Linked DNA regions of Homo sapiens: all the other regions are linked to region 2. Evidence: promoter capture Hi-C in human tissues and cell types (Jung and others, 2019). All regions are on one chromosome and are shown on one strand. The core of a region is centred on a gene start or on the middle of the fragment in contact, and the rest is flanking DNA. Distances in the headings are between cores, read along the strand shown. Region 1 overlaps OSBPL9 (oxysterol binding protein like 9). Region 2 holds the start of RAB3B (RAB3B, member RAS oncogene family). Region 3 overlaps ZFYVE9 (zinc finger FYVE-type containing 9). Region 4 overlaps NRDC (nardilysin convertase).

Evidence for each region. The method cuts DNA at HindIII sites, captures the fragments that hold promoters and counts their contacts. A contact is called where the count stands out against the background at its distance.
Region 1: a fragment that was not itself captured here is called in contact with the fragment with the promoter of RAB3B in region 2 in 4 of the 25 tissues and cell types used here (dorsolateral prefrontal cortex, mesenchymal stem cells, pancreas and 1 more).
Region 3: a fragment that was not itself captured here is called in contact with the fragment with the promoter of RAB3B in region 2 in 2 of the 25 tissues and cell types used here (ovary and spleen).
Region 4: a fragment that was not itself captured here is called in contact with the fragment with the promoter of RAB3B in region 2 in 3 of the 25 tissues and cell types used here (dorsolateral prefrontal cortex, mesenchymal stem cells and spleen).

Annotation. Positions count from the first base shown.
Region 1 is chr1:51,771,997-51,774,994 of GRCh38, forward strand. It overlaps OSBPL9 (oxysterol binding protein like 9), which reads left to right. Exons shown (of 24, transcript NM_024586.6): 13 at 74-186; 14 at 609-727. Among named protein-coding and RNA genes, the nearest start is that of MIR761, 63 kb to the right of the region's middle. The HindIII fragment of the contact is 3,384 bases long and covers 1-2,998 here.
Region 2 is chr1:51,989,305-51,992,067 of GRCh38, forward strand. It overlaps RAB3B (RAB3B, member RAS oncogene family), which reads right to left and starts at 1,396. Exons shown (of 5, transcript NM_002867.4): 1 at 1,248-1,396. RefSeq lists a silencer at 1,310-1,419. The HindIII fragment of the contact is 14,307 bases long and covers 1-2,763 here.
Region 3 is chr1:52,145,389-52,148,381 of GRCh38, forward strand. The region is part of intron 1 of ZFYVE9 (zinc finger FYVE-type containing 9); the gene reads left to right. All of the region lies in intron 4 of LOC107984956 (collagen alpha-2(I) chain-like), which reads left to right. Among named protein-coding and RNA genes, the nearest start is that of ZFYVE9, 4.8 kb to the left of the region's middle. RefSeq lists an enhancer at 2,473-2,993. The HindIII fragment of the contact is 5,601 bases long and covers 1-2,993 here.
Region 4 is chr1:51,854,513-51,857,222 of GRCh38, forward strand. The region is part of intron 1 of NRDC (nardilysin convertase); the gene reads right to left. Among named protein-coding and RNA genes, the nearest start is that of MIR761, 19 kb to the left of the region's middle. The HindIII fragment of the contact is 3,238 bases long and covers 1-2,710 here.

The DNA.
Region 1 (2,998 bases), core at 234-2,733, 220 kb before region 2:
CTGTACGAGTCTAGCTTACTATGATTCTAAATTGCTTTCTTTAGCTTAAATAAGGTAATTAATGTTTTTATAGTTCTTCTGGATCTGCCTCAGTCCTGACACACAGCAGCTCGGGAAATAGTCTAAAACGCCCAGATACCACAGAATCACTTAATTCTTCCTTGTCCAATGGAACAAGTGATGCTGGTAAGTGACCTTTGATAATTTAACTTTTTTTTCTTTAAAAATATTTGTGGCCAGATGTGGTGGCTCATGCCGTAATCCCAGCACTTTGGGAGACCGAGGTGGGCAGATCACTTGAGGTCCGGAGTTCAAGACCAGCCTGACCAACATGGTGAAACCCCATCTCTACTAAAAAAATACAAAAAATTAGCTGGGCATGGTGGTGCGTGCCTGTAATCCCAGCTGCCAAGGAGGCTGATTCAGGAGAATTGCTTGAACCTGGAAGATGGAGGTTTACAGTGAGCCAAGATCGTGCCATTGCACTCCAGCCTGGGCGAAAGAATGAGACTCCATCTCAAACAAACAAACAAACAAAATTGTAATTCTAGTATCAGGACAGATTGGCCCAATTTAGCACCATTCTAATAAGATCTGCTTTATTTTAGACCTGTTTGATTCACATGATGACAGAGATGATGATGCGGAGGCAGGGTCTGTGGAGGAGCACAAGAGCGTTATCATGCATCTCTTGTCGCAGGTTAGACTTGGAATGGATCTTACTAAGGTAAGACCAAATTTGCTGTAAGTCTGTGTGGGTATGTATGGATTCTCAGTGATTGCGTGGTGAGTGTGCCTGCAAATGTAGTAAAATGACATAATTTCTTTTTATACCTGTGTCTTCTTGTGATTTAATATAGATGTAGATAAGTAAACAAAATTTTATAAATGATGAAATAAGTCAAGCTAGGATAATTTCATAGAGAACAGTGTGTATGAGTTGTATGGATTAAGATTTGGTAGAGTTCTAATCTTAGGGTCAGAGGATCTGTGTTTTCGTCCTACCTCTAATATTAGCAAACCACGCACGGTCTTCAGTGAGTTTCTTCTGTTTCTTCCTCTGTGGACTTCAGGGTTCTCTATGCAAATTGGACACATAGTAACCTGTTTCAGAGGGTTATTGTAAGGATTGGAAGAGGTAGTAAATGTAAAATTGTGACATATTTGTGACCTCTGTCTCCCAGGTTCAAGCGATTCTCCTGCCTCAGCCTCCTTGGTAGCTGGGACTACAGGCACGCAAAATGACACATATTGAGTCATGCAAAATTACCATAGTCTGGATTTGAATTTGAATTTAAACTTGGAGCTCTCAACAGAATGCATGCTTGAATTAGGAGACTGGTGTATGGGTGCCTTTGTATATTCCTGCCACTGTGCTAGAAAACCCCCTCCTTTCACTTAATTCTCACCACAGTACCACAGAGTAGGTGTTATTAACTTCATTTCATCAGGAAACTAAAACTCAGAAGTTAAGTAATGTGGCTGAGTCGTGTTAAGTCATATTAAGTGGCAGACTGAGATTCTAATCTGCTCCATGATTTTAAAACCTGTAATCTTTCCACTACTGCCTTTGTCTTGAAGGCTTGAACTGTATTAACTTTCATATTGATTATTGTTCTGCCGAGCTTTGGGGAGTTGATTAAATTTAGAGTTCTCACTTTTGTTAGGGCAAAATCAATTCCAGTGTTATAGTCTTTGTCAGTAGTGAACTCCTTTTTGTTTTGGATTTAGAGGGCCATTAAGAAAAAGACTAATTCATAATACCTTCAAGTAAGTGTCTGTAATAAAACCTTTTACCCCTAATCTAAGTGAGAACAGAGACACAAGGACAACTTTTATTTGTGGAGCCCAACACACTTACTAGGAATGTTCTAGGTAGGAGAACATTTGCAGGAGTTTGTCCCCGGAATTGCTTCAGTAATCATTAGATTGTACAGCTGCTGGCGTTGTTGTTGTTGTTGTTGTTGTTGTTGTTGTTGTTGTTAGGAAGGACGTTGTTTTCCAGGAGTGGCTCATTAGGCTTCCTGTTGAATCTCATTGGCCAGTATCAGGCATATGCTCGTGCCTAAACCTGCCACTGGCAAGGGGGAGGCTAAATGATTGGTTTAAATGAATCCACATTCACCCCTTGAGACGTGGAAGAGAAGGCCATGGCAGCCCACAGCTGAACCTGAACTGAATCAGAGTTCTTGGGGGTGAAGCATGGATGGGGAGAGGCAACCAGATGTATTTGCCACAATCAAGTTTGTAATTCTTGCCTCACATAATTTTCTCTGCCAAATAAACCATATTTGAGTCCATAGCTGCTAAAAGCTTGTTATATTATAAATGATATTATCATAATTATTTTTTACTGAATGTGTTTAAAATAAGTCATTTTTGAAATTTTTATTGGCACAAATGGCTGTGATTGCCAACAGATTCTGAAATCTTGGTTCCTTTTATGCATTCCAAAGTATTGTTACAATAATGCCTTAAATTTGTGTCTTTTATAAGAATGTTTTCTCACTTCAGATACTTTCCAAAAAGAGTTTGTTTTCCAAATACTTTGTAGTTTTTAAAAATACTACACAGTCACATCCCATTTAACCTCACTCAGTCTTTAAAATAAAAGAACCCTAACATATAAGCAGGGCATGTAATTATCTTCCTTTTCAGGTACTTAGAGAAATTGAGTTAATTTTTCAGGGCCTCCTCACAGCTAAGAAGAGGCTAAACAAGCTCTTGAACCCAGGTTGAAGACAGCTAAACCCAGCTCTCTTCATCACTGTTACAGCAGTTTGACTTAATAGCATGTATCAGTATAGCACTACAAACATTGAAGAAAATCTGTTAAATAAGAGTTCTCAGAAAAATCCTAAGTAGAAGAAAAAAATATTTATTTTTTTTAAATTACGTGTGAAATTAAACTTTTTAAAAATGTTTTTTGGCTGTTCAGTTCCTTTGTCCATTTATCTACTGGAGTAGTGATCTTCATCTTGAGTTGTAAGAGCTGTTT
Region 2 (2,763 bases), core at 146-2,645:
CCAAAGGCTGCTGCCCTGCCCTCCCCAAAGTTGCTTCCATGCTTGGACTACAGAACAGAGTTGGATGACTTTTTCTGTCCACGATTCTCTTATTTTCTGTGATCCCCGGTGCCCGTGTAACAAGGTCCAGTGCCTGGGTCCCCTCCTTGGACTCCTGAGTGGCCGAGACACCGCTAGTGCGTGGACACCACTCCAGCCCCCATTACCTTTCCACCCTTACACCACGACCCACACCTGGCCTCCTCCCCAGGCTGACCCAGCGCCCCACCACCCTATCTATACACTCCAAGTTCTCCCACGATTCCTCCACTTGCAGCCGCCAGACCCTACTCTATTCCAGAGCCTCCTCTCCACTCCTGACCAGAATGTAGGCCCCTGTGTCCATTTCCAAGGCCACTTCCCTGTGTCTCCACCGGCTCCCTGCCCCCTTCCTCTGCAGCAGGGTAGACCCAACCTGGCCTCTCACCCTTCCATTCTCCCAAGCTTCCCGCCCCCAAGCCCCACCCCTCGTCTTCCATCTACAGTTACCCCCACGCCGGTCCCCAGCCGGGCTCAACCTCCGACCCCAGCTATCCATACCCACATCCCCCATAAATGACCCTCTTTCGACCAGACACTGCCCTGCTGCCTTTCTCCTTCCCAGCTATCCATACCCACATCCCCACCCCCGACCCTCTCCCAACCAGACACTCCCCAGCTGCCCAGCGCCCCTTGCCCTCGGCACCTCAGTCCCCTCCAGCTCCAAACGACCCCCGCCCAGCCAGTCCCCTCCCCTCAGCTCCTCACCTCCATGCCTCCCCCCGCACCCCCGCTCTAGCTCCCCTCAGTCCGCTCCCTTCACCGCCCCCTTCGCTGCCCCTCGGCTGCCCGGTACCACCTTTCCGCACAGCCCCACTCCGCCCTCCTCGCAGCTCCCCCGCCCCCCACGCCCCCGTTTCCCCCAGCGATCCCTCACTGCCCTCCAGTTGCCCCCCATCTCTCCTCCCAGCCCCAGCGCCGTCTTTCTTGCTCCCCTCCCGCCCTTGGAGCTCCCCCGGCTGCCCCCAACGTCTGGGAGACCCCCTCGGCGCCCCCTCCCTAGGTGAGCCCCACCTCTGCCGCCGCGGAGCCCCCTCCCTCGCTCCTCCCCCGGCTTCCTTCCGCTGCCCCGCGCTCCTTCTCGGCGCCCGCTCTCGGTGCCCAGCGCCCCGCGCCGGGGATCGGTCCCTGATCCTCCGCGGGCGGGCTGCCGGGGCCGCGCCCCTTACCGCGGACTCCGAGTGCGGGACGACGGGTTCGCTCCCGGACGGTCGGCGGGACGGCAGGACCTGGCGTCGGGAGGGCGCGGAGGGGGCCGGGGCGGGGCGCTGCGGGATGGTCTGGTCCGGTCAGGTCCTCACAGTGGCGCCTGAGGGCTGAGGCTCCCGCTCCAGCACTGCTCCGCTCCGGCCGCATCCAGGCCCCGCCCAAGGGCGGAGTCTGTGTTCGCCCCGCCCCGGCCCTCAACTCCTAGCAGGTGTAATCCGAGGTGACTCAGGACCTCCAGGTCCCCCATGTCTGGGTGACTCTCGTGATTTATCTTAATTGTCATGCCTCGTTCCATTGACTGAACTTACTAGGGTAATTAGAGAGCTTTGATGATAATGTAGCTGATGATGGGTAGCAGTTTTGCCATTTCCAAACTGCTTTCTGGTCCGGTCCGTTCTATGGCTCCGTCTTCACAAAAGCCCAGAGAGGGAGGCTGACTACAAGCGGAAACCAAGCCAGAAACCTGGACGCTGTCCTCTACCCTATCTGTGTTTCCTTCACACCCCACATCCCACCGCCTTAACATATCCCTGCCCTTCCTCTGTGTCTCCATTGCCCTTGTTCTGACTCCAGCATCATCACTTCTTGCTTGGACTAATGCAACAGCTTCCTAATTCCTGCCTTCACTCTCCAATTCACCCTATAAAACCAGGACGTGGTGTCAGCATGGCCATTTCCACCCTTGTACAAAAATTCTTTCTCCTGTGGTCTCCAGTCATACCACCCTCCACCCCTCCTCATCACTGACACCCAATTGTTCCTTATGCATTAAAGATTGCAGCCCCTGGCCCATGGTCATCCTAACTAGCCCCTGTTCTGCCATACTCCTGGTGACTTCGGTAGCTGTGAGACTTCCTGGTCCCATTCATTCTGAGTCAGATACCAAAATCATTTTGACACAAGCCCGAGCAACCCTTTAAAAAATGTCACCATGTTACCATCAACCTTGTTTAAGAAAACTCTCGGCCAGGCACAGTGGCTGACGCCTGTAATCCCAGCACTTTGGAAGGCCAAAGTGGGCAGATCACTTGAGGTCAGGAGTTCGAGACCAACCTGGCCAACATGGTGAAACCCTGTCTCTACTAAAAATACAAAAATTAGCCGGGCATGGTGGTGCATGCCTGTAGTCCCAGCTACTTGGGAGGCTGAGGCAGAATTGCTTGCACCCAGGAGGCAGAGGTTGCAGTGAGCCGAGATCACTGCACTCCAGCAGTGCACTCCAGCCTGGGCAACAAAGCCAGACTCCATCAAAAACCAAACAAACAAACAAACAAAAACCTCTCAATGGTTTCCCATTACCAGGAGGCTGTCAACAGGAGTAGAAAAATGTTCTTGCCTGGCCTGGCCCTAGGAAGTCCCACTTCCACTAGAGGAGGCAGATAGAGGAGGCAATAAATACCCCACCCTCAAATCCTGATATGGACTTCCAGTCTTCCTGAGGTCACAGGAGCCAGCTGAAGGCTTGCTCTAGAATCA
Region 3 (2,993 bases), core at 244-2,743, 160 kb after region 2:
TTAAAAGATAATTGCCTGGATTTTAGCTTAAGTTCTTATGTTCCTAAAGATATGGCGTATATATGTGTGTTTTATGGTTGTTAATTGCATAATGTGGTACAGAGTATGGAGTCAGATGTGAGCAGGAATCCTTACTACACCTCTTAAAGCGATGTGACATTTAGATTCTGAGTTTCTTATGTACTATTGGGGTAACACTACCCCTCCTAGCAAAGTAGAACAGGTTCCATGAGATAAAAGTAACCGAAAGCAATTAGCTCAGTGTTTGTCATGTAGGAGGTGCTCAATAAATGTACATTTCTTTCTTCCTTTTGGGAAAAACAAAAATCAGGCATTGGGATTTCTGCATGACTTAAAACTTGGTTGCTTTATTTTTTTTAGACTAAGTCTACTTTTGGGATTTGGAATTTTTTATGGAAAACAATTTCGATTTTAGTATGTTTTCCATTTCATTTTTAGCCAATAAATTAGTATTCCCTTTATATAGGGTACACTTGTTGCAAATTATTTATTTTCAGAGTTTTACATTGATCTTTAATTTTACTTGTGTATACTTGACCTGCATTATATAGAGCAACATTCTTAGTACAGTCAGATCTCTGTATCTGTGGGTCCTCCCAGCCAAGGCTCAAAAATATCCACACACACACACACACACACACACACACAAAAGTAATCATACAATAATAAAAATAATACAAATAAAAACCCAATACAGTATAACAGTTGATTTGCATAGCACTTACAATTGTATTTGGCATTGTAAGTAGTCTAGAGATTATTTAAAGTATACAGGAGGATGTTCATAGGTTATATGCAAATACTGTGCCATTTTATATAAGGGATTTGAGCATCCACAGATTGTGGTATCCTGTGGGTTCCTGGAACCAGTCCTCCACAGATACAGAGAGACAACTGTATATAATAATCATTGGAAAAGATGTAGTTGCAGGCACTGAATAGAAATAGTTCATATATTTAGTTTTCAAAAAACTCTCAATTTATTAAATTTACTTAAGAACTGTTTTCAGAACATAGATTTTTCCTTATAAACTACAGTAGGCTAGAACTAGATTTTATAGCCTGCCAGTCTTTTCTTATAACCTTGGACAAGTTTGTTACCCTCTTTAAGTCTCAATTTTCTTTTCTATAAAATGCAACTGATAATAGTCACCTTACAGGATTATTGTAAGTATTAAATGATATAATGGGTAAATCAGAGCTATAGTTCAGTCCCATGAGTCCTGGTAAATCCGGACTCTGGAATTGGAAAATATATTTCTCTGAGTTTTGAAAAAAAGAGGTTGAAAGATTGTTAATTATTTATGTAGTTTACTATTAATAAGTAAAATCAGCATAATCTAATTTTGAAGTATTAGAGATTGCTAAATTAAGGAGGAACCAAGGTGTCAGTAGAATTAGCATTTAGTTATGTAGTAGAATACCTTATATTTTATAATGGTAAAATTTATTTAATAAAATAATTTGAAAAGTGCTGTTTTTACAGGTTGAGCATCCCTAATCCAAAAGTCTGAAATTCGAAATGCTCAAAGGTCCAAAACTTTTTGAGCACTGACATGATCTCACAAGTGGAAAAATTCCACGCCTGATCTCATGTGATGGGTCACAATCAAAATGGTCAAAACTTTGTTTCATGTACAAAATTATTAAAAATAGTGTATAAAGTTACCTTTAGGCTATGCGTATAAGTATACATGAAACAAATGAATTTTGTGTTTAGACTTGCGTCAGAATTCTAATCTGTCCCAAATGCTTCTGGTTCCAAGTATTTTAGATAAGGGATACTCAACGCATAAAGTATTTTCTATTTTACAAATTAATTAATACTTATATTTTTCTTTTAAATTATGGTAAATAGCCCATTTACGGAACTGGAAAAGTTAGAACAGTATTATATATTCACAGAGTTGTGCAAACATCACTGCTGTCTAATTTTAGAACATTTTAATCACTCCAAAGAGAAACTTGTACCCATTAACAGTCACTCCCAGGATCTCCCTAATCCTCCCAGCCCTAGGCAACCGCTAATGTACTTTCTGCCTCTATGGATTTGCCTATCGAGACATTTCATGTAAGTGGAATCATACGATATATGACTGGTTTCTCTTACTTAGCATAATAGTTTTAGGGTTCAGTAGCAAGTGTCAGTACTTCATTTCTTTTTATTGCTGAATAATATTCCATTGTATGGAAATACCACATTTTATTCATCAGTTAGGGCTGTTTCCACTTTTTGGCTACTATAAATAATGTTGTTGTGAACATTCATGTGCAAATTATTGTGTGGAAATATGCTTTCATTTCTCTTGGGTATTTATAGGGATGGAATTGCTGGGCCAAATGGTAGCTGTATGTTTAACCTTTCGAGAAACTATCAGATTGTTTTTACAAAGTAGCTGCACCTTTTTACAATCCCACCTGCGTTGTATGAAGGTTCCAATTTCTTCACGTCCTCACCAACACTTGTTATCTGTTTTTTTGATTATAACCATCCTAATGAGTGTGAAGTGGTAATGTAAGGCTCTATCTGCGGTTCATAACTTTTTTTTTTTCAATAGAGGCGAGGTTTCATTATGTTGGCTAGGCTGGTCTGGAGCTACTAACCTCAAATGATCCACCCACAGCCTCCCAAAGTGCTGGGATTACAGGCATGAGCCACCATGCTCCTGGTTAATAACTTTTATTTACAGTCATTAGGTAAATTGTTGAAGCTTTTACTTGCAGATGCATTGCCAGATTCTTTGATGATAGGGAATGTTTTTGGCCTGAGGATAAAAGTTGTAGGCCAGGCGCTGTGGCTCACGCCTGTAATCCCAGCACTTTGGGAGGCTGAGGTGGGCCGATCGCCTGAGGTCAGGAGTTCGAGACCAGCCTGGCCAATATGGTGAAACTCTGTCTCTCCTGAAAATACAAGCCTTTCGGTTCAAAATCACCACTATATGGTGGCAGATACCTGTAATCCCAGCTACTTG
Region 4 (2,710 bases), core at 20-2,519, 130 kb before region 2:
AGGGACCCCAAGCATAGAAAAAAGGAAAATCTTCAGTTATTTCAAAGGAAACTTCAGGCACCTAGCTAGCCCTGAAAAATAAATGTGCAACTTGATAAACAAGCAGGTAACAGTAACAACAGCCAAGCTGGCCCAGCATGGTGGCTGACACCTGTAATCCCAACTCTTTGGGAGGCCAAGGTGGGAGGATCACTTGAGGCCAGGAGTTCAAGACCAGTCTGGGCAACATAGCGAGACCCCATCTCTAACAACAACAAAAATAGCCAAGGAAGTTAAGAGTCACAAGAATGTTTGCTTCCCTATAAAAACTAAAGATAATACCTTAACATGTCTCCAGTTGTTTTTCAGAAACCTGTGCCCACACCAAAAGGATCTGCCAGCACAGCAACCTCATATAGAGAGGAACTGGGGACTGAACTCTGACTCCCCTTCTTTGTTCTAAATTTCTTTCTGAGGGGCCTGGAGAAGGTTATACCCATGAGCCAGTGCTAACATTCTTTTCTGCTGATCTCAAATTTTTAGAAAAAGCTTTGCCTCCTTAACCAACTGCAAATCAGAAAATCTTCTACTGTACCTATGACCTATACACCACTGCTTCAAGATATCCCAACCTTTTAGGCCAAAATCAGTGTGTAACCCTCCATGTATGGTTTATGATTTTGTCTGTAACTTCTGCTATCCAGAAATTTACCACTGCCTTTAAAAACCCTTACCTGCAAATCATCGGGGAGGTCAGGATTTAAGCATTAGCTACCTGGTCCTCTTTGCGTAGCATCCTGAAAATAAATGCCTTCCTTTCTACTGCTGCAAAACCTCAGTGTGGTTATGTCCTTATTGTGCCAGGCGAGCAGACCCAAGTTCAGTTCTATAACAGAGCTAAAAGGAAAGAATGTTTTTATTTAAGAAAAAAAAATTGGTATAATATTTGGGTGAAGAAAATTTGTACCAAACAAGATAAAAAATCCAAGCCCTTATAAAGAAAAAAAAAATGAAAAGAGTTCACTGTATACTAATTTTAAGTTTTTATAAAACAATATCATAAACAAAATCAAACAGCAAATTGCATACTGGGAGGAAAAACTAACAACATGTAAGAGTTCCTTCAAATCATTAAGAGAAAAAAACCCTATTAAAAAATAAGCTTAAAAATATGTGCTATACAGCCTGGCCAACATGGCAAAACCCTGTCTCTACAAAAAATACAAAAAAAAGTAGCTAGGTATGGTGACGCACCCCTGTAATCCCAGCTACTCAGGTGTCTGAGGCTGGAGGATCACTTGAGCCAGGGAGGAAGAGGTTGCAGTGAGCCAAGATTGCGCCATGGCACTCCAGCATGGGTGACAGATGGAGACTCTGTGTCAAAAAAAAATAATAATGATAATAATAATATATACTACACACATTACAAGAACACAAGATGTCAAATAAAATGATGCGCAATCTCACTAGAAATAAAAGACAATCAACTTAATGAAATATTTTTCATCCAACAAATTAACTAAACAAAAAATAAAAACAATTGCTATCCAGTGCTGATAAGTGGACAGATTATTCTCACACATTTCTGATGAATCTCAAATGGTATCACATTCTTGTAGGGAAATACAGCCATTTTTATTTTTAATGGAAACTCTGAATACTTTTCATTCAGTAATTTCATTTCTAGGTATTTCATTTCTAGGAAAAACTCTCAAACGGTTTTTCTTTTTCTCTCATACTACTACAATGGTCAGCAACCAAAGTCTTCTGTGACCAAATCCGTGCAATTAATTCTTCAGTGGACACCAACTGGGTGTCCTCCAAATCAGCTCCAACACTACCTGGAAATAGCATCAGATCCCCCAGGATGAGGGCTCAGTCCCCAAGACTGCCCTGCCAACAAACAAACATACCAGTTTCAAGTCCAGACCTCTGGAACTTCTGACTTACCGGCTTTCAAGTTGGGGTTCCCACGACCTCCTCTTTGGGTTTGATTAATTTGCTGGAGGGCTCACAGAACTTTGGGAAACACTTACATTTACTGGTTTATTGTAAAGGATATTACAGATAAAGAGATGCACAGAGTGAGGTATGGGGGAAGGGGCACAGGGCTTCTATGCCCTTCCTGTGCAGGCCACCCTCCAAGAACCTCCACGTGTTGAGCCATCCTGAAGCTTCTGGAACCTAGTCCTCCTGGGTTTTTATGGAAATTTCAAAATATCAGCATTCCTTCCTCCAAGGATAGGGTGGGACGCCCTCTGAGGAGGGTCTTATAACTCCCAATCAGAAAGGCAGGGAAGATTATAGGGTCTTGTCTTGGGGCAGATGAGAGATGGATAGGAGAAAGTCTGAGAAATTCTGTTTCCTGAGGCCTGCCCATGAGACCTGACACACCCAACATTGTAACAAAAAGACTTTAACAAGGGCTATGGGAGTTACAAGCCAGGAACAATGGATGAAAACCAATATATGTAACATTTGTTAAATTAAGTCTAGACACATGAGACCTGACACACCCAACATTGTAACAAAAAGACTTTAACAAGGGCTATGGGAGTTACAAGACAGGAACAGTGGATGAAAACCAATATATATAACATCTGTTAAATTAAGTCTAACCTAAAGCCACCTCCTTACATATTTTAAGTTTGGCCTAAAGGTTTCTCTGTACACAGTGAACTGAAACTTAACTAGATGTATAAACAGATCGTAACCTACTTTTGTGCTAATT